7 separate regions of the Homo sapiens genome follow, and regions 1, 2, 3, 4, 5 and 7 are each linked to region 6. Evidence: promoter capture Hi-C in 16 types of primary human blood cells and fetal thymus (Javierre and others, 2016). All regions are on one chromosome and are shown on one strand. Each heading gives the region's core, a stretch centred on a gene start or on the middle of the fragment in contact. The rest is flanking DNA. Distances are from core to core; before and after follow the strand shown.

Region 1 (4,051 bases), core at 989-3,488, 2.8 Mb after region 6:
ATAATTAACAGTGCCACAATGAACATTTTGTCTAACATGTTTAAAAAGCCTTTTGAAAAAAAAAAAAAGACTGGGAGAAACAACAATGAAAAACTTTTATTATCCACTGGTAACAGTTAATAATCTTGACTTTATCTTGTATTGGAGTTTCTAAGAGTTTTCTTTCTTGAGAAGCCAAGGAGATAAACAGGAAACTTCTTAATCATAAGCTGCTGGCTTCTATTCTAAATGGTGGATCTAAGACAAACCACTGAAACTGCCAGCATAACAGTGAAAAAGACCAAGACCCTATACAAAGATACTCAAAAAACTAAGCTGAACTTTGGTTAAAAGGAAAAAAAAAAAAGAAACTCAAACAAACATCCCCAAAAACCTGACATACAACTATAAGTTTGTATGAGGAATTACTATTAGCACACATAATCAACAATCACTAATATCCCCTCAGCTTCTCAAGCTCCTTAAAATTAAGGAATTAAAAAGACAAGGAATTCTTTTTACAAGAAAAATCCATAAACAGAAAAAAATAGTTAGATATGTGGTCAGTATTATCAACTTAGCCCCACATCACCACCTCCCTGCCAATAAGGAAGTTTATAGTTTTTAGGCCAAATCTTGAAAGAGAATTCTAACTTGGCTTTATAGAATTAAAAATGGCGAAAATTTACAAAGTAATCCATGATTTTGATTCAATGAGAGATTTTGAGCCAGAATAAAATAGTTAAGCTGCTCCTGAATTTCTGACTCACAGAAACTGTTTAAGGTAATAAATATTTATTGCTGTTTTTAAGCTGCTAAGTTTTGAGATAATTTATTATGTAGCAATAGATAAATAGTAACTGTCATGACTCAAATAGACAATTTGGTAGATTTTCACCACTGATATAAATGACAATGTGATATATTGTATAAAAATATATAATAATTGCTTTTTTTCATTTTATACACAGAATATGTACAGACAAAAACAAGTATGCTAATGAAATTTCTTCAAATACTACAAACAATTAGTGAAGACTGCTACTATAGGGTAAGTGGGCCGGTTCTTTTCCCTAATTTGTCTCAACTTCTATGAAAAGCTATTTTTCACCTCAGAGAAGCTACTATAAAATACTCCCCCCCCTTTCAAAACCCTATGACAGTAGAAGAAAAATAGAGAAAGGAGGTTAACTAGGGATAATTCTAGGCTGGAATCACTGCAAATTGTGAATACAAGTATTCCAAGAAATATTTTTAGTATTTTTGTACTTGAAAGAATTCTAGAAAAGTGACTAGTGTATACTTTTAGATCCATCCTTCATTCTCTGGTGAACTGAAGCATGTCTCTAAATAGTAAATTTTCCTTAAATTGTAAGTCAAGGGAGGTGAGTTCACATTAAGCAACAAAGGAAAAATATGGCATTTCATAAAAACAAAGATTCTCATTAATAAATGTGTAAGAGAGTTTTATATTGGATATAGGTGCTACTTAGGTTTCACTTTCATATAAAAACTAGTAAGATAAGCAAATTGGTGTATAATATAAACATATATTTTTTTAAAAAGTCACCTACCCTTAAGAGGATCATGCTCTGCTCTCATAATATCGATAAGGGAATTTTCCAAAGAGTGCATATTCAAACTGTCATACATTCTACTTCGATCCTGGAAGAGAAGAGGAAAAAAGACATTATAATCTATGCAGTTTTTTCAAAAAGCGATTATAAAACACTATCTAAATTCTCTTACATAAAATAGGACTTCTGATTATTACTAATTAATCTGTATCCCACAAAAATACCAATAACTAAAGATCTCATGAACTACAATGTTCCTTGCATTGGAGGACATTATTTTCAGTATATTTATCTCTTAAAGCTTTTATCAAAAGTAATCTAATTTTACTGGCAATACTAATGCAAAACAGTAAAATAATTTCTATAGTTACTTTTCTCTATAAAGTTTCCTGAAATCTTATACACACAGAAAGCATTTTTTGGTTAATTTCAAAACTTTTCTCACATATTTAGGAAGACAGATAGTGGCACATAGAAAATAAATATTTGGGAGGAAATATTTTAGTTCCATAATTGCACCATACTTTAAACATCTATCAAACATTTTGTTATCTGACATAGTAGTCTGAATTTAATAATGAGTGCATAAACATCTTATACGGTAAAAATCAAAAGCATAAGATACTAATAACCAGAACAGGGACTAATGCCTAGAATATTCAGATTCATATATTACTCTCTAAAGTGCTTCCATATTTGTCTCTGCATTTTTAAGCCGGCCTCCCCCAACTCCCCTGCAAAATAGGCAGGTGGAGGAGAGAAGAGTAAAAGCACAGTAATCTCATTAAGTCTGCTACTTCACCAAGTCTCCAAAGTCTTGTTATCAGAATCTTCTTTGCTGAATGTTCAATCCCTTCACTTGCTTATTTGAAAGAATCTGACTCTTTAATGTCCATAAATTTCTACTGTATTCTGTTCAATACATACTCAGTGTACCTGAAAAAAGGTATGTGGTGAACTACTAGAGGAAGCTCTGGCCCATGCCCTCCAAATAATCTAGGAGTCTTCCCAAAATACTCACCCACCCAGTTACATATGTGTATACACGCATGTGTAAGCTTATGTATACGTGGGGGATACAGGATAGTCCATTCTAAACTCTCAAAAAATGACTGTCACAGAAAATGGAAAGGAAGAATCTGAAAATTAAGTGGAAATAAAAGCCCCCATAGAAATCAAAATAAGGCACTTATTAACCTGGGTCCATTAGCTTCAAGAGAGACCAGAAGTCTCTGAGATTATATGTAATATACTGTTCATAGGTGTACAGTAGTCCCCCCTTTCTGCATTTTGCCTTCCACGATTTCAGTTATCTGTAGGACAATACAATAAGATATTCTGAGAGACAGAGATGCCACATTTACATAATTTTTATTACATTGTTATAATTGTCCTACTTTACTATTATTGTTGTTAATCACTTACTGTGCCTAATTTATGAATTAAACCTTATCATATGTCTTCATTGGAAAAAAACAGCATATGAAGGCACTATTTGCAGTTTCAGCCATCCACTGATTGTCTTGGAACGTATCACTCATGGATAAGGGGGGACTAGTGTGTACATAATTTCTTTTTTTCCCGAAGAAAAGGTTTATAGCTTTCATCAGTTTTCCACAGGAGTCCACAATCCAGAGAAGATTCAGAATCAGTTCTTTAGAAAGCTGAAGAAAAACCTAAAAAGCTTTTCTAAGAATATGTTCATTTATTTACTTTACTTTGATGTTTAAATTAGGGTTGTAGCCTTTTTAAAGCTAGGGGTTCAGAATCAGTACTGTAGACTAAGTTGCTGTCAGGGATTTAAAAAGGTAAAAAGTAACACTGAATGACGGAAGGAATGCTAGACTGGAGGCTCTTATTCCAGCTTTATCACCAATTAACTCTATCAGTACTCTTTACTGATTTTTACTGAAAGGCCCCTGAGGTAAAACACATGCATCAATAACAGCTGCTCTCTAGAACAGTGACCTTGATTAGTGATGGAGGCACAAAGAATCAATGAGCTGTAACAGTGGTTCCTAAACTTGAACATGCTTCAGAATCATCTGGAAGGCTGGTTAAACACACAGACTGCTGAAACACATCAAATTCAGTAGGTCTGGAGTGGAACCTGAGAGTATGTATTTCTAACAAGTTCCCAGGTGATACTGATTCTGCTGGTCTGGATATCACACTTTATAAGAAGCAATTAGTTTCTTCGTCTGAAGTCACTAAATCTCTCTAGGCTCTGGTTCTAACTCCTAGAAAATAATCATGTCAGACTAGATGATGCCTATAGTCTCTTTAAAAATTCTAGAAAAGAAAAAGACTCAAAATACTCTAAAATAAATGAAATATTAATAAAACTGAAACAGAGAATAGGATGGCCCATATGGGCAAAAATGACATATTAATTTTAGGAATCTATCCAGATATTTCCATCTTCCCTGTGCTTCCACTATACTGTGTTCATAACTAATTTGTTGATTTTCCTGTCTGTCCCACTAAACTTCTAA
Region 2 (3,995 bases), core at 466-2,965, 2.8 Mb after region 6:
CCAGCTATGAAAGTCCTAGATGATACCTTCTTCCAATAGAAGGCTGTTTTTTCTACGTGAAAACTTATTTAGTGTAGCCACCTTCATCAGTTATCTTAGCTAGATTTCTAGATAACTTGCTGCAGCTTCTCCATAAGCACTTTCTGCTTTACCTTGCACTTTTATGTTACGAAGACAGCTTCTTTCCTTAAACACGAACCGACCTCTGCGAGCTTTGAACTTTTTTCTTCTGCAGCTTCCTCACCTCTCTCAGCCTTCACAGAATTGAAGAGAGTTAGGGCCTTGCTCTGGAGTAGGCTTCAGCTTAAGGGAATGTTGTGGCTGGTTTAATTTTCTCTATCCAGACCATTCACACTTTTTCTATATCAGCAATAAAGCTGTTTCACTTTCTTATCACTCGTGTTCACTGGAATAGTACTTTTAATTTCCTTCAAGAACTTTTCCTTTGCATTCAGAACTTGACTAACTACTTGGTGCAAGAGGCCTAGCTTTCAACCTATTTCAGCTTTCCACATACCTTCCTCACTAAGCCTAATTATTTCTAGCTTTTCATTTAAAGTGAGAGACATGTACCTCTTCCTTTCACTTGAATACTTAGAGGTCGTTAGAGTGTTATTAATTGGCCTAATTTCAATATTGTTTTGTCTCAGGGAATAGGGAAGCCCAAAGCCTTTATTGATTAAATTATTGTCTTATATGGTTGTGGTTTGTGATGTCCCAAAACAGTTACACTAGTAACATTAAATATTATGATCACAGATCCCCAAAATAGATATAATAATAATGACAAAGCTTTAAGTAACGCAAGAATTACCAAAATGTAACACAGAGATACAAATTGAGCCATGCTGTTGGGAAAATTGTGCTGATAGACTTGCTTGATGCAGGGTTGCCACCAACCTTCAATTTGTGAAAAACCCATTATCTGAGAAGCACAATATAGCAGAGCACAATAAAGCGAGGAGTGCCTATATATCCAGAATCCAAGCACTTCACCCCATTCTCACCACAAGCAGCCTGGACCAGGCTACATCGTTGCTCTCACCTACTAACTCGTATTCCAGCTTCTGATCTTGCCCCTCTCCAGTCTGTTCCCAACATAGCAGCCAGGATGATACTTCTGAAGTGGAAGACAGGTCATGTCAACTCCTCTGACTAAATACTTACATTTTCTCAGAATAGAAGTCAAAACATTTTAATAACCAAAAGGTTCTTCAGAATCGCTCCTGCCACCACTAACCCCTCTGAAAGCTTCCCTACAGTGGAATGCTTATTTCTGTAACAGCCCAGGCCAATTCAGCCTTAGGGCCTTTGCCCTCGCAATTCCCACACCTGGAATACTTGTCTCCTAAGTAGCAACAGGGCTCACTTAATCATGTTTTTATCATTTTTTTTCATGTCTCTCTCACGTCTCTGCTAAAAGTCATTTTTCAGTGATGTCTTCCCTGACCACCATTGTAATAAAATGACAACCCCCCGCCGCCACTCTTTCCCAGCCTTCTTATTCCTCATAAGGTGTTTGTGTTTCCATCTGACCCACTATGTACTTGAACTGTTTATCTGTCCTCTCTCTGAGATCACAAGCCCATGAGGAAAGGTCCATGCCTGTTTTGCTCACTGTTGTATCCTCAGCACTTACAACGATGCCTTGCACATAGTAGGCTTTCAAGAGTTGGGAATTGCATGCACTTATTAAAGGGGTTGTTGAATTAATAAATAGCAATTTTAGGAAATGATAGCTAAAAGAATACAATAGTAATACAAGGGTCTGTTTATAAATGGTTAATTTGTTTTCAGGAGCTGTCCAAACACCATGCAGATGCTCCTAGGATTCTTAAACTAGCCAAAAATAATTCCAGGCATTGTCAGATATAGGATAAGTACATGAAGACAGGTAAGTCATCCCAAGACTATAACGCTGGGGAATAGATAACCCTGGAGTACAAGGGGGAAAACTTCTGTCTCAGGAGACTAGAGTTGGGACTCCAGGAACACAGGGGTTCATTACAGGAGCTTGAACAAAGAGAGGAGTCAAGACCCCATCTCATAGAAATGGAACCAGTTCAGGAGGCACTGCAGTTAAGGTCAACTGGATGCCTTACTTCCATGCTGCTGGTTTCTTTCTGTGGCAGAGCCCATGCCCATAAATGTAATTAACCCCACAGAATGGGAAAGCTTTGAGTCTTTAGATGGGAGCTAATTAGCTCTGGTTTGGAGTTGGAAAAGGAGAAAGTAGAAATTAAGATTCATTCTGACCTTGACCAACTTCAAGGTGCTTTATTGATGTGGCACTCAAGAGTAGTACCATCCTCAATTACTTCTAGTTCTCCTACTTTTCTAAACCTTCCTTCATAATTTCCTCCTTCACTTTCTCCTTACATATTCTTTACGTGTGAGAGTTCCTTAGGCTTATGTTTCTGGTCCTTTTCTATATTTCTACCTACTTTTTCTAGATGAATTTATTATCATGTTTTCAAACATCATCTAAATGCTAATGTCTTCCAAATCCATCTCTTTAGCCTCATGGTCAAAATCATATTTCCAACTGCCTGTTTAACAGTTTGACCTGGGTGTCCTTCAGCCACATCAATTCAATGTGTCTATACCTGCATTCAACATCTTCCCCAAAATCTGCTTCTCCTATTTTGCTTCTTGTCTTGGCTGACGTCATCATCACACAACCAGTTTCTCAAGCTGAAACATGAGTCATCCTCTTCCTTCATCTCTCTCACCCTCCAAAAACAATTGTCAACCATGCTCTGTCAATTATACTGCAGAAACGTTACTCAAATGTAATTCCTTCATGTATCTCCGCATTCCCTTGCCTTTCACATTCCTGGAACACAAGTGCCCAATAAGTATTTGTTGATTAGTAATTGCCCAATGAATGCTGTAAGAAGAAAAGATGAAGAAAAGGAGAAAACAAGGTAAGGAAAGGAAGGAGGGAGATGGAAGGAAGGAAAGAGGTAGATGTTTCCAAAGCATGCTTTACAAAGACATGAGCCATTTTGTGGATAACTGTAGCATTGTTACCTTATGTTTACTGGAGAAAAAATAAAATGAATAATCATAATAACAATGACAAAAAAGTTATTTTCCTTCCCAATATTTTTTCCTTGACAATACCAAACTAAAAGTTTCACTCTGGTTATTACGATCTCTATTCTGGTTATTATGCCATACAAAGATGAACTCATTGACAAAGAAAAATATCAAGAATCTTCCCCTGATGACAAAGTGTAGCCCCGAAACATAATAGAAGGTCTGTGTTACCCTTTGTGGCATCCAGGGGATTTATCATCCCACTCCAATACCCCCACCTAGGAGAGAACCTGTCAGCCTCTCCAGTAATTTCTGCCACGATGCTCACTGGGCCCTTACGTAGACTGACTGACTTCTCTATTGCTACTTATCTTGTATCTTTAAGGCCATGTGAACTCGATTGAATTACAAGTCTTTGTAGGCAGTTGCTATGCCTTATATGTTCTTTAATTTTCCTAGTTCTTATTGATTGATTTATGTATTCAGAAACTCTCTGTTGAGTGCCTGCTCTGTACCAGACACTGTGCAAGGCACTATGGGTATAACTGTGAAAAGAACAGAAAATATATCCATTATTCTGTACATCCTCACAGAGGCTGTAAATAAATACTGTTGACATTAGTTATGATAATTCCCAACCCTAATTATCTGGGCAGAGTCATAAACAGTGAGACTGTAGGCTGAAACTGACCTACTAAATTGGAATCCTACTTGCTGCAATATGACCTTGCCGGGCTGGTCATCGGTGGAGCCTTGTGATCTATACAGAATATTGAGGTAAGGCAAATCTAGCAAGAAGGCAGAAAAAATTACACACTGAAGCTCATCTCAATCCTGGCTTGAAATGGGACTTCTATTATTTCCTTTTCTTGTCACAATATACTTTGTGAGTAGATAAAGCGAATAATATTTTTGTTTTGTTGTTGGAAAACCAAAGCCCAGAGGTAAAGTCG
Region 3 (3,925 bases), core at 967-3,466, 2.1 Mb after region 6:
GAATCTAAAACAATCAAACTCGTAGAACCAGAGAATAAACTGGTGGTTACAGAGGCTAGAGGGTGAGGGTGTTAGGGAGATGATGAACAAGGTACAAAAATCTCAGAAGGAATATGGAAGTTTCTTTGAAATCTATTGCATAGTGTGGTGAATATAGTTAACAAACAGTATCATACATTTCAAAATTGCTAAGAGAGTAAATTTCAAATGTTCTCATGACAAAAAAATGCTAAGGATATGATTTCATTCTTTTTTATGGCTGCATAGTATTCCACATATTTAGCAGCAACATGGATACAGCCGCAAAAGATGTAGCTTAGGATAATGGAGGCCATTGTCCTAAGTGTATTGATGCAGGAACAGAAAATCAAATGCCACATGTTCTCACGTTTAAGTGAAAGCTAAATATTGAGTGCACATGGACATAAAGATGGAAACAATAGACGCTGGGGACTACTAGAGGAGACAGGGCGGAAGGGGAGGGACGGCTGAAAAACCAGCTGTCAGGTACTATGCTCACTACCTGGGTGATAAGATCATTAGTATACCAAACCCCAGTGACACACAATTTGCCTGTGTAACAAACCTGCCCATGTACCCCCTGAAACTAAAATAAAAGTTGAAAAAAAATGCTAAATATTTGAGATGATGGATATGTTAACTAGCTTAATTTAATTATCCTACATTGTATTTATAAATTATAACATCACGTTGTATCCAGAAATATACACAATTATAAATTGTCAATTTACAATAAAAATTGTTATTAAAAATGCTGATGTTATTGGGTTTTTAAAACATTAGACATTTAATGTTTAAGAAAATCCCACCGGGCGCGGTGGCTCATGCCTGTAATCCCAGCACTTTGGGAGGCCGAGGAGGGCGGATCACCTGAGGTCGGGAGTTCAAGACCAGCCTGATCAACATGGAGAAACCCTGTCTCTACTAAAAATACAAAAATTAGCTAGGTGTGGTGGCGCATGCCTGTAGTCCAAGTTACTTGGGAGGTTGAGGCAGGAGAATCACTCGAACCCAGGAGATGGAGGTTGCAGAGAGCCGAGATCCTGCCATTGCACTCCAGCCTGGGCAACAAGAGCAAAACTCTTTCTCTAAATAAATAAATAAATAAATAAAATTTTTAAAAGAAATTCCCTATAAAGGATTCTCTGTAATATTAATGGAAAGAAATGGTGAAGAGGGAGTGAAGTTGAGGAGAAGTTTTCTTTAACAGGGGACCACTGTTCAGAACAGTCTGCGGGGCGGGGTGGGGGTGTGCTTTTGTCCTCTTTATAGACAGGAGGATCATTATTCTGTTCAGCCAAGGTCACAGGACTAGGACAGTGGAGCTGGTATTTGACCTTGGGCCCAAAAAAATACACTGCAGTTCGTGCAGGGAGAACCAAATGGTCTACCTCCACCCTCCTGGGTTCTTTGGCATGGCTGTGAATTAAATCAGCACACAACAGATTAGCAAGAAAAAAAGCTATGTTTAACTACACACGTTGGCACAGGGGTCCCGCGAAAATATGAGAGTTGAAGAAAGACCAGATGATTGAAGCTTATATAGCAGCCTGAGCTACAGAAAGGAATAGGAGGAGCTTGGGGCTTCTGAGGGTGGTAGAGACAAGCTATGAGAAGGGGAGGGAGGAAATATAAGGTGAATAAAAGTTTGTCTTGTTATGCAAATAAAGTATCTCAGGTAATAAAAATTGTCTAGGAACAGCCCTCTTCCTGATACAGATGGTTTTACTAATATAGATTTCTTTTACAAGAAACTTAACTTTCAATTTACAATAGGCATACATTTCTTTTACAAAGGGCAGCTTTTCAGAGATACTCCTGCGTCTGCAGTGTATCTGAATAACCAGCTTGAAATATGCCAGGAAGTGTATTTTGGGGTGGCACATCTTGTCTCCCACAGTATGTTTTGAGGTGGTGCATCCTGAGCCCCAACAAATGAGCATCTTGGAAAGAGATATGGCTGGCCATTGCACAGCCAGTGCACAGAAAAATGTGAATAGCACTCCAAACCTCACCCTCCGAGGCCGCTAGGGGGAAAAACAGCTCTCCACAGCGCAACATACCTGCTAGATGTTACAATAACCCAAGTCTATGATGATGACCTGAGTCATTCATAGAAGATATACCCATTAAGGACATCATCTTCATAAAACTAGTTATATGCAACACGTCCTATGTCAAAATGTTTCTCAACATGTGTTAACCTATCAAACACACTCTCAACTAATCTCCACCCAGGTCAGGAAAATGTGGTTGAGTGTCACTTCCTGAGTCTGGCTGGTACTGCAAATATAAATTCAACGTTTTTTCAAACACATCTCACCCCCAGACCTGCCATTGGCATGCACATCTTTAACCACAAACCACGATTGAAAATGAGAAAGAAAACTCTCCTCTAGCTGGGCGCTTCATAGGACTAGCCAGGTACGACCATCTCTGAGGGTCTTTGACAGCTCAGTTTTACTGCATAATCTGTTTTCAAGACCCTTTAAAAGACCAGATTGTCTAGTACTTTTCTTTTATGAGAAGAGCTTCCCCCAACCCACCCTGCAGTCTTTTAGCAAAAACACCAGAAAGTCGGTTTTTCCCCCTTGTTTTGTTGTTGTTTTTGTTGTTCATGGTGGTGTGTTTTGTTTGTTTCAGTTTTATTTTTTCAAATTCCATGGTTATTTTCAAAATGAAGATCTAGCTTACAGTGTAATTTTTAAGTTTATGTTTATGTTGCAGAGACTGGGAGAACTGTTTAGTCACCACCTTGAGAACCTTAACATCATCTATCAGTTTACATGGTACTTGCCCTGTGGAGGAACTCAGAGCTCTCAGATTGTTTTACCTTTATTCCCTGGAAGCTTTGGACTATTGGAATATAAGCTGGAATAAGAAACTCATTGATTTGAAATTGGAGTGAAGTGATTATCTGTCTAATAACCCAATGGTTAAGTTTTTTTTTTCAAATAGGGTTTTCAGAGTACACAAATGAGCACACACTCACACACTCACAGATGCATAAACACTCTAAGACCTTCATCACTGGTGGTAACCACCACTCTACATTGACTGAAGGTGACATCTGGACTCAGCATTTCTTTTTTCTTTGGGGCTTTTCACCCATAAATAATATGCAGTTGTTCAATTCATTGCTAAACTACAGAGATCCAGTGAAGAATGAATACATTAATATTGCAAATGCATTTACTCTTTGACTCACTGACCCCATTTCTAGGAATTCAACCTACAAATATCTCTGCCCACATGAAAGATAATAAATATACCAGATTAGTCATTGCAGCATTGTTTATAAGAGAAACTGGCGCCAGGCACGGTGGCTCATGCCTGTAATCCCAGAACTTTGGGAGGCCAAGGCGGGCGGATCAAGAGGTCAGGAGTTCAAGACCAGCCAGACAAACATGGTGAAACCCCATCTCTACTAAAAATACAAAAATTAGCCAGGCGTGGTGGTGCACACCTGTAATCCCAGCTACTGAAGAGGCCGAGGCAGGAGAATCACTTGAACCTGGGAGGCGGAGGTTGCAGTGAGCTGAGATTGCACTACTGCACTCCAGCCTGGGCGACAGAGTGAGACTCCATCTCAAAAAAATAAAAAAATAAAAAAAAGAGAAACTGATTGCAAACAACCTAAATGATGTTCCTAACGGGGTGGGTTAAATAAATTACAAAACATCTCTCCCATGGAATATTATGCAGCTGTAAAAAATAAAGTGAGGGATCTCTGTATGTATTGATACAGAATAATCTCCAGGATGTACTATTAAGGAGTACAAAGTATTTTGTGTTTAATGCTTCCTTTTGTGTAAGAAAAGGTAGGGAGTAATAACATGTATTTGTATGTGCTTGTGCAAAGAAACCCTAGACAGATCTACATGAACTTTAAACAAGTGGTCAT
Region 4 (3,854 bases), core at 114-2,613, 2.9 Mb before region 6:
CTGGTTATTTGCACTGATGATATTATGATGATTGGACCTAATGAGCAAGAAGTAACAACTACTCTATATTTATTGAGAAGACATTTACATGTCAGAATGTGGAAAATAAATCTGACCAGAATTGAAGTACCTCCACCGCAGTCAAATTTCTAGGGATCCAGTGGTGTAGGGCATGTTGAGATAGGTGAAGACACATTGCATCTGTCCTCTCTTACAACCAAAAAAAGAGATACAACACCTAGTAGGCCTCTTTGGATGTTGGAGAAAACATACTTGACACTTGGGTGCGTTATCATAGCCCATTTACCGAGAGACCCTAAAAGCTACTAGTTTTGAGTGGGGCCCAGAGCAAGAGAAGGCTCTACAACAGCTCCAGACTGCTGTCCAAGCTGCTGTACCACTTGGGTCATATGATCAAGTACCTCTGATGGTGTTTGAAGTGTCAGTGGTAAAGAGAGGTGCTGTTTAGAACCTCTGACATAAAGCAATCATTTTATTCAGGTGAATGATAAAGCACATTTTGAAACTTTTCAAAAATTCTCCCAAATCTTTCATTTCACACTTTGTACATTTCACCTGGTGTGATGGTTAATTTTATGTGTCAACTTGGCTGGGCCATGGTGCCTAGATACTTGGTTAATCATTATTCTGGATGTTTTTGTGAGGCTGCTTTGGTGTGGGACTTACATTTACATCAGTAGACTTTGAGTAAAGCAGATTGCCCTCCATAAGGTGGGTAATCTTCACCCAGTCAGTTGAAGGCTGAATAGAACAAACGAATGACCTTCCCTGAAGCAAGAGAGAAATCTGCTGCTGACAGCGTTCAGACTTGAACTGCAGCATTGGCTCTGAGGCTCTGCTCTGCAAATTTTGGACATGGCACCCTCCATAAACACGAGCCAATTTCTTAAATATCTCTCTCATACACACACACACATACACACACACACACCCACACACACACACACAATTGGTTCTGTTTCTCTAGAGAATAGTACACTTGATTTCTCCGTATTTGGGGTAAATTCTAGTTGTCCAGTAGGGCAGCCTTGAATAGCAATATCAAAACTCTGTAAAAAGGTTAATCTGTGTTCCCAAACTCTAACTTTCAATGCTAGAATCTCTAAAATACTTGTTTTCTGCTAAGAGGCATTGGCTGACTTTGGTCTTTGGCCCCCACGTTGGTTTAAAGAAAGAGATTAGTGCTGGGAATAAGATAGCTCCAAACAGCACAATGAAGGTAAATTAACGAGTTGGCTCCTTCAGTGATATCTATAATTTTCTGATTAAGGTCTAAGCTAGGGTAAAACCTTCCTCATTAGCTGTCTTCCCTGGGAAGATAACCCAATACTTGTCAATTCTTGCTTTCATTTTTTGCTCCACATGAACTACCTTACCTGTCTTATTGTTGAGATGTGAGTAATGGAGTTAAAATAAACTTAATTTTAATGTGTTTATTATCTGTTCAGATTCTTATTCAAAAATTTAAAAGAATTAAGACCTTTAAAATGTGCAAATATGCTCCAATATTTATTTTTCCACTATTTTAGAAGAAAAAGATCCAAAAACTTTGGTTGAATTTTAAGTTTTTAGCCACTAGATGGCAGTGGATAACTATCTCTTATTTTGCTTTCCCGCATTCAACTCTCAGCTAATGTTTTCTATTGTCAGCTGGCAAATAGAAAAGAGGAAATATATAAAGGCTATTTACTGGAGATGTTGAACAAGATAGAGATTTTATTAATGGAGTGTTGAACACATTTTGTAATTCAACTGCTAGCAAAATTATTTTCTTTATTGTTATATATTTGTACGATTAAAAGGAGAAAATAGGATCAGCATTGAAACGTACAAAAACATGGTCAGGCTAAATGCAATCAGCATTGACTGGAAATGCTTATCTTGACCAAATGCTAAGCAGAGGAGAATGACTACAGCCTAATACATCTGCTGAGCTGCTTTGAAACGTTTTTGACCACATGTAAGAGACCCTCTGCATTTTCATGACACCCACACCCAGGAGCACTACTAGAAGGGCTTGTGGATGTCAAGAGAGGTTGTTTCTGCTGGAGTCTTTTACCTCAAACTAAAGAAAAAGGAATCCCTCGAAGAAAATGTGCTTGGAGACTCAGGATTTAAACTTTATCACTGGTTGTCTCTTTGTATTATATTTAACATTAGATTTTCCCAACCTATGTAGAACATTCAGTGTGTGGTCTATGATGGTCTTTTGGGGATGGACTGACTGCAAAGTAGAGCTATGGCTAGGAATCATGTCCATGGGTAATATTATGCAGCCATTTAAAAAATATATTTACAGAGGCAAAAGTCTGAGCTTAGAATTCTTAGGATCTTTAATACATGGAGAAAATCTGGGGAATAATAATAACGAAGCAATTCAAAGAACAGTGTAGGCATTTCTCCCTAAAAACCTAGAGAAGGAAGTATGAAAAACCACTAATGTTGACCAAAGTATTCATAGGCCTTAAAAACATTTATTTTAAGCAACAAGGGAAGAAAATATTACTGTTTAATAGAGTGCCACTTCAGAAGGAAAGGGGCAAAATACTTGGTTAACAGCACATGACTTGTACTAGCATCCGTATTCTTGGAGATAGGCTAAGGAAGGCCACCATTAACAGCCAAAGTTAGTGTCATAGCCCTAGTCACAGCAGCCTCCACCCCCTTCACCTTCTGCAGGAGCAGAAGGCAGGAATCCATGCTCGGGCTATCTAAGGAGCCAAACCTTCAAAGTGTGTTGGGAGACTAAAATCCCCCAGCCTATACCCTTATCTTATTCTTATTTATGAACAAGCATCCCTTAGCCTTCTTTATCTTCAGTGTGTTGCACTCATGTTCCCCCATCACATAACAAGGAGGAAAATAAGTGAATACATATTGGATGCTATTTTCCGGATGCCAAGTCTCTCTCCAGGTAGTAATGAGGAAGGAGTTTTATAGAACATTTAGCAATAGCACCCTGGGAGTCTGAAAGAGTTAATTTCTCTCTTTATACAATTTCTACCAAAGGATTCCTTCTGGGAGGAAATCTATTTAATTTTGTTCATAAAAGAGATAAAGCTGGGGACTAAAGTGGGGTAGGAGGAGACGTGCATCGCTAATATCTTTAAAAACAGAGAAGAATAGGATTCAAAAGACCTCAAGAAATTAAAAAAAAAAACCTTTTTAAAATAGTGATATGCACCAGATGGCACACACAGGAATCGATATTCTAAGTCCTTTAGGGACAAGGTTTAATTCTTTTAGGTCTCATGTAGCATCTGATGCAGAGCTCTGCACTTAGTGGGCACCTAGTTAATATTTATTAAAATCAGATTGAATGTCGAACAAGTACACACACACACACATACACACACACACACACATACACACACTAGCAATCAGAATTACCCAAGCTGAAAAAGTCACTAATGCTACAAGCATTATATCAAAGGTATCATTTCACTCATTCACTTAATACACATTTTGTGATAAGATAAATAATATCCCCCACACCATGAAGGAGTTCACGGTGTGGGGAATGATTCTCCTGAAGCACTTTCATGCACAGAGCAAAATGACCCAGACATTCTCCCAATCAGGGTGGGGTAGGCTTGAAGGGCCTCCTATATAAAAGAGTAGCCTCCCAGCACTGGTTATGAAGCTCTGTTTCTCAGTCTCAACCCTCCCTTTCACACTCTACTTTGTAATGCTGGTCCTGGGTCTCTGTAGACAGCATTTCCCCTATGCTGCTGACTCCCTAATAAACTCTGCCAATAGGGTGCTGGAAGCAGACTGGGAGGTAGGTGAGCTTCTGAGAACATTTTCTTCCTTTTTGTTGGCTTGCTGGTCCT
Region 5 (3,486 bases), core at 734-3,233, 2.2 Mb after region 6:
TAGACTAACTATAAAATTCTTGCTGAAGGCAAGAGGATAGTAACATATTGAAGGATCAGTAGTTTGATTAGATGTAGATGCAGATCAGATACTAAGGCTGAGAGATTTTTCACTAAACCAATTCAGCAGGATTTTTGCTGAAACTGGACTAAGCCGAACAAGAACAGAGTATAAGGTCAGGCCTAAGTTGAGAAGAGGGCCCAGAGGAGCCTGACTCAGGTTTGGTGAGAGTCTTCATCAGTTACCTCTTTATTACTGTTTAATAAAATTTTATAATGAATGCTACTCACCAAGTCTGAAAGCTGTTTTTGTAAGTCGAAGTTTTAATTATAAAATTTTTACATTCTGTTAACATTTGCTGAATTCTTAAAGGAAAGCTATCCAGTTAATGGTGACCAAAGGTATAATTATTACTTAGAATGAATAAACACTTTAATTTTATAAATTTTTACTTGTTTTAGAATTGAATACCAGCCAGGTGCAGTGTGCAGTGGCTCACATCTGTAGTCCCAGCACTCTGGGAGGCCGAGGCTAGTGGATCACTTGAGGTCAGGAGTTCTAGACCAGCCTGGCCAACATAGTGAAAACCTGTCTTTACTAAAAATATAAAAATTTAGCCAGACATAGTGGCAGGCGCCTGTAATCCCAGCTGAGGCAGGAGAGTTGCTTGAACCTGGGAGGCGGAGGTTGCAGTGAGCTAAAGATATTACTGGGTATAGTTTAGGATAATGATGTAGAGAGACTTTCTTCTTAATTACATTTACATATTATAGGATTTTGAAATTTGATCTTAGTTTATTTCCCTTCTGGCTTGGTGAAGCGTAAGCTTAAGTTACAACTCTGTTAAGCCACCATGTGCTCCTCACCTGGAGATTTATGTTCTGGAAAGGCTGTTCTACAGCTTAGGGAGGATGGATTAAAGATAAAGAAAAGACTAAAGGAGGAAGACCATTATTAAAAAATTATTCTAATAGTTTCTGGAAGAATACTTAGTAGCTACTTGGTGGGGAGGTGTGGGAGGTTTGGTTGGGGTAGGGTACTAGATAGTAATATTAATAGAAGGGAGATTTACTTTTTTATTGAATATTCTTTCGTATTCTTTGAATTTTGTATCATATTATGTATTGCCACATGAATACACCTTCGACAAATCTGAACTAAAGTCATGACTAGTAGAAATAAAGGGGAGGGGATCAGACTTGAGAATTATGTAGGAAATAAAATTGATAGAATGTAGTGATTATACTTAAAGGGAGGATGAAAGAAGAGAAAAGAAATAAAAATGAGGATTCAGCCTGACTTTCTAGAGTATATAGAAGAGGGTCAGGAAATAAAAAAGATTCATTCTTGACAGATTAGGTTTGAACTGCTTGTGTAATCCAGATGGGCATTTATGAATAGGAGGTGGTAAAGATGGATTTCATGGTCAGAAGAGTGACCCAGTATGAAAAAGCAAATTTGATAGTTATTATTAGCATATAAGTAGGAATGGAAGCCATGTGGATATGCTTAGGGAAAATGTGTAAAGTCGTAAGAGAACAGGACATTAGACTGAATATTGGGAAGCAGTTGAATAAATTAGTTCTGGAAAAAGAGACCAGAGAAGACTTAACAGAGATAAAATATTTTCATATTTTAAAAGTTTTCATAGGCTGGGCATGGTGGCTCATCCGTGTAATTCTAGCATTTTGGGAGGCTGAGGCGGGCAGATCACTTGAGGTCAGGAGTTCGAGACCAGCCTGGCCAATGTGGTGAAACCCCATCTCTACTAAAAATACCAAAAAAATTAGCTGGGAGTTGTGATGGGCACCTGTAGTCCCAGCTACTCAGGAGACTGAGGTGGGAGAATCGCATGAACCTGAGGTTGCAGTGAGCTAAGATTGCACCACTGCATTCCAGCCTGGGCAACAGAGCAAGGCTTGTCTTAAAAAAAAAAAAAAAAGTTTTCATTATTTTATAAATTTTCCACATGCTTTGAGAGGGCTGATATAGAAGTGGGGAAATGTGATTTTAGGTTATGAGGAAGAAGTTTATAGCTCCTTAGAATTGCCCAGAATTAGAATGAGTTACTTCAAGATATAGTGAGCACCTTGCCTTTAGAAGTGTTGATATTGATATATATGACCTTACATCAAATAATTTTTTCTTTTTTTTTTTTAAGACAGAGTCTTGCTCTGTCACCCATGCTGAGGTGCAGTGGTGCAATCTCGGCTCACCGCAACCTCCTTCTTCCAGGTTCAAGCAGTTCTCCGTGCCTCAGCCTCTCGAGTAGCTGGGATTACAGGTGCCCATCATTACACCTGGCTGATTTTTGTATTTTTAGTAGAGACAGGGTTTCGCCGCGTTGGGCTGGCTGGTCTTGAACTCCTGACCTCAGGTGATCCGCCTGCCTCTGCGTCCCAAAGTGGTGGGATTACAGGCATGAGCCACCGTGCCTGGCAGGATAATGTTAACAGGTACAGTTGACCCTTGAACAACATGGGGATTAGGGTTGCCAACACCCTGTGCTGTTGAAAATCCACGTATAACTTTTGAATCTCTCAAAACTTTACTTACAGCCTACTACTGTTGACTGGAAGCCTTACCAATAACATAAAACAATCGAATAACAATTATTTCATGTATTATATGTAAAATATATATACTGGATTCTTACAGTAAGGTAAGCTAGAGAAAAGAATGTTACTAAGAACATCATACGGAAGAAAAAAATCTATTCACTATTTATTAAGTGGAAGTGGATCATCATAAATGTCTTTATCCTCATTGTCTTCACATTGAGTAGGCTGAGGAGGAAGAAGAGGTGGGGTTGGTCTTGCTGTTGCAGGGGTGGGAGAGGCAGAAGAAAATCGGTAATTAAGTGAACCCGCACAGTTCAAACCTGTGTTGTTCAAGGGTCAACTATATTCTGAGTTTTTTAGTGGAGGAGACACTAGATGACCATAAAGGGATTCTGTAATGATACAGTCCATTAGGCTTGGAGATACATTAAGAGAACTGACATGTAGAAATTATATAAATGTATATAATTTATATATACATCAATAAAAGCTGTGGGCAGATACGTGCTATTTTTAGACTTTTTATGATATTTTAAAAATATGGGGTTACATACATTACTAAAGTAATTCAAAGCTTACTGTTTTATGGGTATCTTTTATGTTAAAAGTACAGAGACCACTTTGCAATTTGTCTATTTTTTTTTCCCCGGAGGTTTTATGTCACATTTTAAACTTCCTGGGACCAGACATAATTAATGAAGCGAAACTTTTATAAAAATGTATTTTTTTTTTGGTTTCCAGAATGAATATGAACAGTTAAATTATGCAAAACAACTGAAAGAGAGATTGGAGGCTTTTACAAGAGATTTTCTTCCTCACATGAAAGAGGAAGAGGAGGTAAGCATAATTTTTCTTTCGTGATTTAGATTTATAACATTCTTAAAATACTATTTTGCTTTAGAGACTCTTCAAAATAATGCATAGG
Region 6 (3,642 bases), core at 349-2,848:
GATTGGTGAAATGAGGTAACAAACTTTGCTGCAAATTCTATTACCCTCTCCACAGCTGGTTCACGTTTATAGACCACCATAACATATTTAAGGTAATGAATGAACTCCTCATGAAAAACTGTCTTATCATCCATCTGAAAGACAAAAGAAACCCTTCATAAACTGCACCGATAAAAATCCTTTATTCCCAACATCACCCTAAGACTGATGAAAGCACTAGCCATAATAATGCAGACAAATTAAAATATTTATTTAGTAAACTCTTAATTATCCAAACCAGCCAAAGGGCAATCAATTTGCATGAATTTCTCTCCAGGCTATAATGGGAGTACACAAGCTTGACTTTTGACAGTGAAAAGATTCCTTTGATATATTTTTTTCAATATCTTTGATTCTCAATAAGCCTTTAGTACCAGTACGTTACAAATACGCTTCTTCAACAACCCAAAATCAATACTGGCTTTTATATTTCTCATATTCAGGCCTTCCTATCACCAGCAGTTTCTTTATGAGATAACTTGCACATCCTATCTCATATCCTCAAAGCCCTGTGATGTTTACTCACAATTTTTCTTGGACCTCAAGATAATTCATCTTCCCCAAATTAATTGTTCTATTCTTCTCAAGGTTCCACTCAAAACAAACAAATAGTATGTACATAAATAAGAATGGCCAGGCCCTAAAAATAATTTGGTATTTGGTGATTGGATTCAACGTAACCGTAGGACAAGGGTAGAATCATTTGATGTTCGGCGGGGAGCGATGACCCCAGGGGCAACGACCACTGAACCCCCGCATTCAGGATCCACTCTGCGGTTCAATATTTGATGTCTGATCGCCTCGGTGGTCGTAAATGTTTCTCTCCACGTTCACGATCGGACTAAGGAATAACGGTCCACGCCGCCCAGAAGCTGGGGGTGTCGGCTCAGAAAAGCCAAGGCGGGGCCCGTGTGAACGACGCCCAGGCTTCGGAGGCTTTCTGGCCTGGGCCCAGGCGACCTCGGGTAAGTCCCTGACTTCTCCGAACCTCAGATCCCTATGAAGTGAGTCGCGAAGGTGAACAAGGCTGGAGTCACGGTGCGCCGAGCCCGAGGGCCACGGAGGGCCCCTGAGGGAGGGTGGGCCGGGGCGGGCGAGAGGCGGCGGCCGGGGCCGGGAGCGCTTACCGTGCGGTAGGTGCGGCTCAGCGCCACCACCAGCTTCGCCTGGTTCTGGTGCGGCTGCTGCGCCAGCCGAAAGGCCTCCTTAATCGACAGCAGCCTCCTTTCCGCTCCCATGGCTCTGGAACCCTGCCGGGACGAGTCCTGCCCGCGCTCGGCTACAGCCTGCCAGCCCGCCAACCCAGAGGCAGCGCTCTCCGAGTAGTCTTCTATGACAGCCCCAGGGAGTATTTACCGCTCGAACGTTCAAATAATTCCCGCGAGAGGGGGAAATCCCGCGAGACTGCCGTAAGCGCTTTGGGAGAAGAGAGCGGGAAGCGATGGGTCCACCCACCTCGCACCCCGCGCTTTGGGCGCATGCGTCTAGGTTCAACCTTGTCCAGCCGTTTTCACGGAGGGAAGTGGCGTTTCTAAGGGGGAGGGGCCTTGACTCGGCCGGAAGTAGCGTCGGCGCGGGAGCTGAGCGGAGTGGCCTTGCCACCGGAGGGGAAGGGCTGCTGGCGTTAGGCCTGGCTGGGTCGTGCGGCTGAGCGTGAGGCTAGAAAGAAAAAGCGATCCTCCAAGAGTGAGAACGGGAGATCTGCCGAGGATAACAACCTCCCTTGTGGCCGAAGGGCGGGGGATCCCCACACGAGGGCTCCGCTTCGAGAGACGGCGACAAAGGAAAGTTCGTAGCGCGTTCCGGAGGCCCGGCCACCTCTGAGAAGGGAGACGACGCTGCTGGGTCCGCTGAGCGGGGCGACCCGAGGTTAGTGGAGACGGATGCTGTCTTTTGAAGGCCTTAGTCCCTGCCCTGGTGAAGCCGACTGCGAGGTTCCACAGGGCGTGCAGGCAGTCCGGGGATCGTTGCGAAGGGGGGTGCGGGCTAACTTAGCTGCTGCCGTTTCTAGATGTGCAGCTGTGTAGGCCCTGTTTACAAGTGTGCATAAGGACAGTGTATTAAGGGAGAACTCAAGAGAATGGAAAGGTCTTTCGGGTAGTGGTTAAAATAAAGAAGAGTAGGAACTAGGTTTTTAAATTTTAAATGAAATTATATCAGACAGAACTTCTGTTGGATCTCAGGATGCACCATCCAAAAATAGGACTGTAGGAGACCAAAATATGCCACCCTACAATATACTTCTAGAGTATATTTTGAGCTGGTATTCTGATAAAATGCAGACACAGGAGTCGCTCTGAAAATCTGTCCTGTTGTAAAAGAAATTGACATCTACAGAGGAAATATACATCAGTAAAGGATCTGTATCAGAAAGAGGGCAGCTCTGCGATAATTTTTGTTACCTGGGAGATCTTATCTGCATACCAAGACAACTTTTATTCACCGTATATTTCCTCCCCTCACCTTTCCACAACTTTGTGGCCACCATCCCCCAGAAAGCCGCAAGCCCCCATTTCTTGAGTAGCGTAGGATGCTGTATAATATTCAATCATCTGACCATGGTGGGACTCCTCTGCGTATGTAATTAAGTACGGGTTTTTTTTCTTGTTAATGTCTATGTCAGGTTAATTTGTAACCCAGCCAAAGAACCTAGGAGGATGGAGGGAAGCCGTTTTTCCCTCTCCTACACCTCAGTAACCTACTGCCAGCTGAAGAAATAGAACATTACTAAAGCCACCTGTACATCTTTCTCCTTTTGAATTACCTGCCCTCCGAAGAAGTAATGGATTTTCTGAATTTACTGTTAACTTTTACCATGCAGCTTTCTATATCTTAATGACATATTTTAATATATTAATGACATGAATAAATCCCTGAATGAGGATATTGTACTATTTTGCATGTTTTAACCGTTAAATGAATAATTATATGTGCATCTGGCTTTTTTCAATCAATATTGCTGTGGTTCATATTGATATGTTCATAATAGTAACTTGCACTTAATTAACCTTTATTATGTGCCAGACACCATGCTAAGCACTTTACTTCGTTTACTGCTCACAAACCCTGTAGGATAACTTTGATCTTCTTTTAAGATGAGGAAACTACGGCACAGACAGGTTGCTATAGTACTCCATTGTATTAATATGCCATACCTTATCCATTCTCCTGCTTAATTCCTCAAACTTTGTAGATATTCAGCTGCTAGTTAAGAATGTGGTAACATTTGTGTTGCCCATAATTTTGCTTTGTGACGTTTCTAATATATATTTTTTTATTTTTATTTTGAGACAGAGTCTTGCTCTGTCGCCCAGGCTGGAGTGCAATGGCGCGATCTCGGCTCACTGCAACCTCTGCCTCCCGGGTTGAAGCGATTCTCCCGCCTCAGTCTCCCAAGTAGCTGGGTTACAGGCATGCACCACCACACCTGGCTAATCTTTTGTATTCTTAATAGAGACGGGGTTTCGCCATGTTGGCCAGGCTGGTCTCGAACTCCTGACCTCAGGTGATCCACCCGCCTTTGCCTCCCAAACTGTTGGGATTACAGGCGTGAGCCACCGCGCCCGGCTAGTATTTCTTTACTATATTCTATTTGGCTGTCTC
Region 7 (3,604 bases), core at 506-3,005, 2.9 Mb before region 6:
ATAACCACATGCCCTTCTCTCATTATTAGCTCAAAACTAGCAAAGGGACAAAACTCAACACAGCATCCAGCATTGTTCAATACTGTGCGAAATGCCTTTAAAAAATCTACTGAGTTAGGAATAGTTTTGGACCTACCGGATTAATTGTTTTAGGGTTCAGTTTATCACTTGGTCTAGGATGAAGTTTTCTTGCAGACTCTGGAGAACTGGTTGACAATGAGGATTTGCTTCCCTGAACTGCATTCCTGTGTTTTAACTGTGTGCTTGATGATGTCCTTTGATCATAGTTACCTGGAAAAAAACAGAACATCAATAGAAACCAGGTACAAGCAATAAAGTTCACCCTGCATCCATCTGTAGCACAGAAAGTGCCATGAACAAACTTGACCTCTTCACTTAAAAACAAAAGCTCTGTACCTGTTGCTCTGTTTTTCAACTGTGTACCTCCAGAGCCCTCTGATTTCTGCATTGCTTCCCTTTCACTCCTGCAGTTTAAAAAAAAAAAAGTTGATTTCAAAATTTGTTTGGAGGGGCATTTGTTATCAATAAAAAGACAAAACCAGAACAGAGTATACAATACAGTAAAAGACACACAAAAAAGTTGATATGGAGCAAAATACTGGAAAAGACTAATGAGAAAACATGAAATTATGTCAACTTCAATAGTATCAATAACAGCAAAATAATCATCTCCAAGAAATGATGTACAAAAGTCAACTTTTTTTCCATTCAAATTGTCAAAATAAACTGTTAGAAACTCACTTCCAATTCTCTGACCACATTAGAAAACACAGACTAGATTTCTGAAAGGAGTGGTTGGTACATTCCCTGTCATCTTCTCCATCTTCTCTGGCCTCTGTATTTCCAAAGCTCCAAATGTTAACATGTGCACATCAAGCTCTACTTTTCCAGTGACATAATGAACTCTCCTACCCAATGTATCACAAGCTCCTTAAACTGAATGTAACTAAAACTGAGGTTGTCACACTGAAGTTATTATGAACCCCTTGTTAACCCAGGGTACCACCAGTTTTCTGGTCCTCAGACTGAAAAACTTAGAATCACCATTGTCTCCTTTTCCTTCATTTCCTACACTCAATGCTACACGTGATGAGAAAGAAAGAGCTTTGGGCTCAAATATGGGTCTGCATCTCAGTTCTACCAATTATGAAATTTATGAATTTAGGCAGATTATTTAACCTCCCTAAACCTCGACTTCCTGACCTGTTTAAAGAGGGAAATAAAAGCCTGTCAAGGTTTTCTGGAGGTGCAAATGAAATTATCTCTCAAGTTACTCACCCAGGGAATACTGGTTCACTTTTCCCTTACACAGTTGCTTTTTTTCTGCTAATGGAGGACTCTAGTTCATACCCCAAGGTTTCCAGCTAATCCAATCAATTTCTACAATTGTATCTCTAGCAAGAAATACACACACACAAACACACACACACACACACACACACACACACACACTCATATACCCAAGTGCCTACTGGTATTTTTAGGCCAAGCTTCATTCCCAACTTCCATGAAGCCTTTCCTCATCTTGGTTTCTCAAATGTGTATTTCTATGGCATTGATTTCTATCCTGTGTCCTTATTTCTACTTGATTACTCTGTTCCCTCACTTCCACGACAATCTAGTTATTCTATTAGCACACGTCTCATTTTAATGCCTTTAATAATGACTGCCTCTCAAGTATAGTGTAAGATCTTCCCTTAGGACAACACAGGTAAAGTCCTCTTCCACCTCCAAATGACACTTTTTCAAATATTTGATGGCATTAACTCTTAACTCCTTCATTTTTTCTTCTTCAGGATAAACACTGATACTTTTTAAAATGATTCCTCACATGAAATGCTTTTAATCCACTTAACAAGTTAGAAATCCTCAAAAGGAGGACAAAGCTCCATGTTATAAAATTTAGCCAGATATCTCAAACATGATGTACCAGCTTAAAGTCTGATACCATGTAAAGATAACCTAAATGTAAGCTTGCTTCTGCACACTGAATAATTTCAATTTCCTTGATTTAGTACATTGATCTCATTTATCTCATCCCACTACCAGCAGATGACTTACTTCCCAGTATCACACTTCACCTCCATTCCCAGGGCCATTTTCTAATACTACGGTAATTAAAATCTCATTAAAGTTGTCAGATAATAGTCTAAAATAAGCTGAGAGAAGCTTTAAATATGTTAACCTACTATTGTACTTCTGTGATCATTCAACAAGTATTTAATATTGTGCCTGACTTCTGTTTTGAGAAGCTCCTGGAGGGGGAACAACACAAGTTTCTATTGAAAAAAAAAATGCATCAGTTTCCTCAACTCTATAATTGGGCATAATTACAGGAACTACTTTAAGTGTTGATGAAGACTAGTAAGAATATATGTAAAACAACATTTCCATAATGGGAGGCATGCAGTAAGGGCCACATGAGTCTTAGCTATTATTATAATTTTCTTTACAATGGTACAAAGTGTTCTTCAGTATTACTATTACTAATAGTGAAACCACATGTTTTGTCATTTTTAAAAAATCTGGCTTAACATCTTGGGCTACATCAATTTGAAGACCAGCTGAGGTCCAATTTCTCTTGATCATCAATTGTTAACAGCTGCAACAGATAAAAGCGATGCACAGCAAAGACGCGTACCCACAAACATAACAAGGGCACAGGCAGCCATATCAAATTATGATGCACATTTTTCAATACTACCTACCAATTCAGTGGAAGTTTTGGATGGAATTTTATGGCTAAATTTCTATCTTCCTTCACGTCAAAAAGTTGTTCCTGTAACAAACTAATGGGGAGGTGTTGCATTATATTTTGAATGAGTTCAAAAAGTCACCAAAACTCATTTGAAAAAGTTTTAAACATGGTAGAAAATCGAGCTTCTACAGTTTATGAGTATACAGGACAACTTTTATGTACAATATATAATTTTCAGCATTAAACATACAGTAATGCAAACACGTCTACATCCCCTTTCAAAATCCTGTATTAGAGAATTTCCTTCCAAAACAATTGCTTTTTCACTTAAAATTTTTATCCTTTACCTTAACGACAAATTACAGTTGGCTCTCCGTATATGCGGGTTCCACATCTATAGATTTGACCCAACCACGGATACGGAGAGCAGACTGGAGGACTTTGGCATGGGTGGATTTGGGTATCTGAAAGAGACTGGGGGGAGGGAGGGAGTCCTGGAGCCAATTCTCCACGGACACCAAGGGACGACGGGAAATGTAGTCAATTTTTTAAAATAATATCCACCTGGAAGCATGCCACTGACAAGCCTGGAGCATGAGTTGTTTGTGAAAGCAAGCTTTAAAAATCTTATCCTTGGTAACCCTTTCAAGTGGTTTTTCATTAAATAACATGTAGAGGATGGTGTAAAGGGGCAGTGATGGGGAGAAGCGAACCTGTAAGAACTATTTTGTGTTACAAATATTATCAAGGTCACCGCTCATTCTTTTACAAAACAAGATAAACATTCTAATTATAGATATTAGAATCCATAAATCCACTTAACTTCGAACACCTAAACTATGTCACAATATCAGAAAGCAAACAAACCACCCTATGAAGCCCACA

Evidence for each region. Contacts are between HindIII fragments. The CHiCAGO score rates a contact against its expected background, and 5 or more counts as called.
Region 1: a contact is called between a fragment that was not itself captured here and the fragment with the promoter of DCAF16 in region 6, in 1 of 17 cell types (neutrophils). The highest score is 6.0, in neutrophils.
Region 2: a contact is called between a fragment that was not itself captured here and the fragment with the promoter of DCAF16 in region 6, in 1 of 17 cell types (non-activated CD4 T cells). The highest score is 5.9, in non-activated CD4 T cells.
Region 3: a fragment that was not itself captured here is called in contact with the fragment with the promoter of DCAF16 in region 6 in 2 of 17 cell types (fetal thymus and naive CD8 T cells); the score reaches 8.1 in fetal thymus.
Region 4: a contact is called between a fragment that was not itself captured here and the fragment with the promoter of DCAF16 in region 6, in 1 of 17 cell types (total B cells). The highest score is 6.3, in total B cells.
Region 5: a fragment that was not itself captured here is called in contact with the fragment with the promoter of DCAF16 in region 6 in 1 of 17 cell types (neutrophils); the score reaches 5.4 in neutrophils.
Region 7: a fragment that was not itself captured here is called in contact with the fragment with the promoter of DCAF16 in region 6 in 10 of 17 cell types (total B cells, total CD4 T cells, naive B cells and 7 more); the score reaches 30.6 in total B cells.

Annotation. Positions count from the first base shown.
Region 1 is chr4:15,014,781-15,018,831 of GRCh38, reverse strand. CPEB2 (cytoplasmic polyadenylation element binding protein 2) reads right to left here. Exons shown (of 12, transcript NM_001177382.2): 4 at 1,554-1,644. C1QTNF7-AS1 (C1QTNF7 antisense RNA 1) reads left to right here. Exons shown (of 6, transcript NR_125911.1): 3 at 951-1,030. Among named protein-coding and RNA genes, the nearest start is that of CPEB2, 14 kb to the right of the region's middle. The HindIII fragment of the contact is 757 bases long and covers 1,860-2,616 here.
Region 2 is chr4:14,993,153-14,997,147 of GRCh38, reverse strand. It overlaps CPEB2-DT (CPEB2 divergent transcript), which reads left to right. Exons shown (of 8, transcript NR_038857.1): 4 at 1,798-1,894. Among named protein-coding and RNA genes, the nearest start is that of CPEB2-DT, 6.9 kb to the left of the region's middle. The HindIII fragment of the contact is 924 bases long and covers 1,254-2,177 here.
Region 3 is chr4:15,754,844-15,758,768 of GRCh38, reverse strand. It overlaps LOC107986186 (a long non-coding RNA gene), which reads left to right and starts at 2,343. Exons shown (of 2, transcript XR_001741393.2): 1 at 2,343-2,445. It also overlaps a transcript of BST1 not described here. The HindIII fragment of the contact is 1,312 bases long and covers 1,561-2,872 here.
Region 4 is chr4:20,683,109-20,686,962 of GRCh38, reverse strand. No RefSeq gene overlaps it. Among named protein-coding and RNA genes, the nearest start is that of PACRGL, 15 kb to the left of the region's middle. The HindIII fragment of the contact is 8,962 bases long and covers 1-3,854 here.
Region 5 is chr4:15,640,700-15,644,185 of GRCh38, reverse strand. It overlaps FBXL5 (F-box and leucine rich repeat protein 5), which reads left to right. Exons shown (of 11, transcript NM_012161.4): 3 at 3,303-3,398. It also overlaps a transcript of FAM200B not described here. Among named protein-coding and RNA genes, the nearest start is that of FBXL5, 13 kb to the left of the region's middle. The HindIII fragment of the contact is 2,309 bases long and covers 829-3,137 here.
Region 6 is chr4:17,808,713-17,812,354 of GRCh38, reverse strand. DCAF16 (DDB1 and CUL4 associated factor 16) reads left to right here and starts at 1,598. Exons shown (of 3, transcript NM_017741.4): 1 at 1,598-1,908. It overlaps NCAPG (non-SMC condensin I complex subunit G), which reads right to left and starts at 1,376. Exons shown (of 21, transcript NM_022346.5): 1 at 1,167-1,376; 2 at 1-134. The coding sequence starts at 1,277. RefSeq lists enhancers at 905-1,417, 1,691-1,850, 1,418-1,929, 1,971-2,060. The HindIII fragment of the contact is 3,530 bases long and covers 340-3,642 here.
Region 7 is chr4:20,701,347-20,704,950 of GRCh38, reverse strand. PACRGL (parkin coregulated like) reads right to left here. Exons shown (of 9, transcript NM_001258345.3): 2 at 418-485; 3 at 137-291. The coding sequence starts at 469. Among named protein-coding and RNA genes, the nearest start is that of PACRGL, 2.7 kb to the right of the region's middle. The HindIII fragment of the contact is 483 bases long and covers 1,514-1,996 here.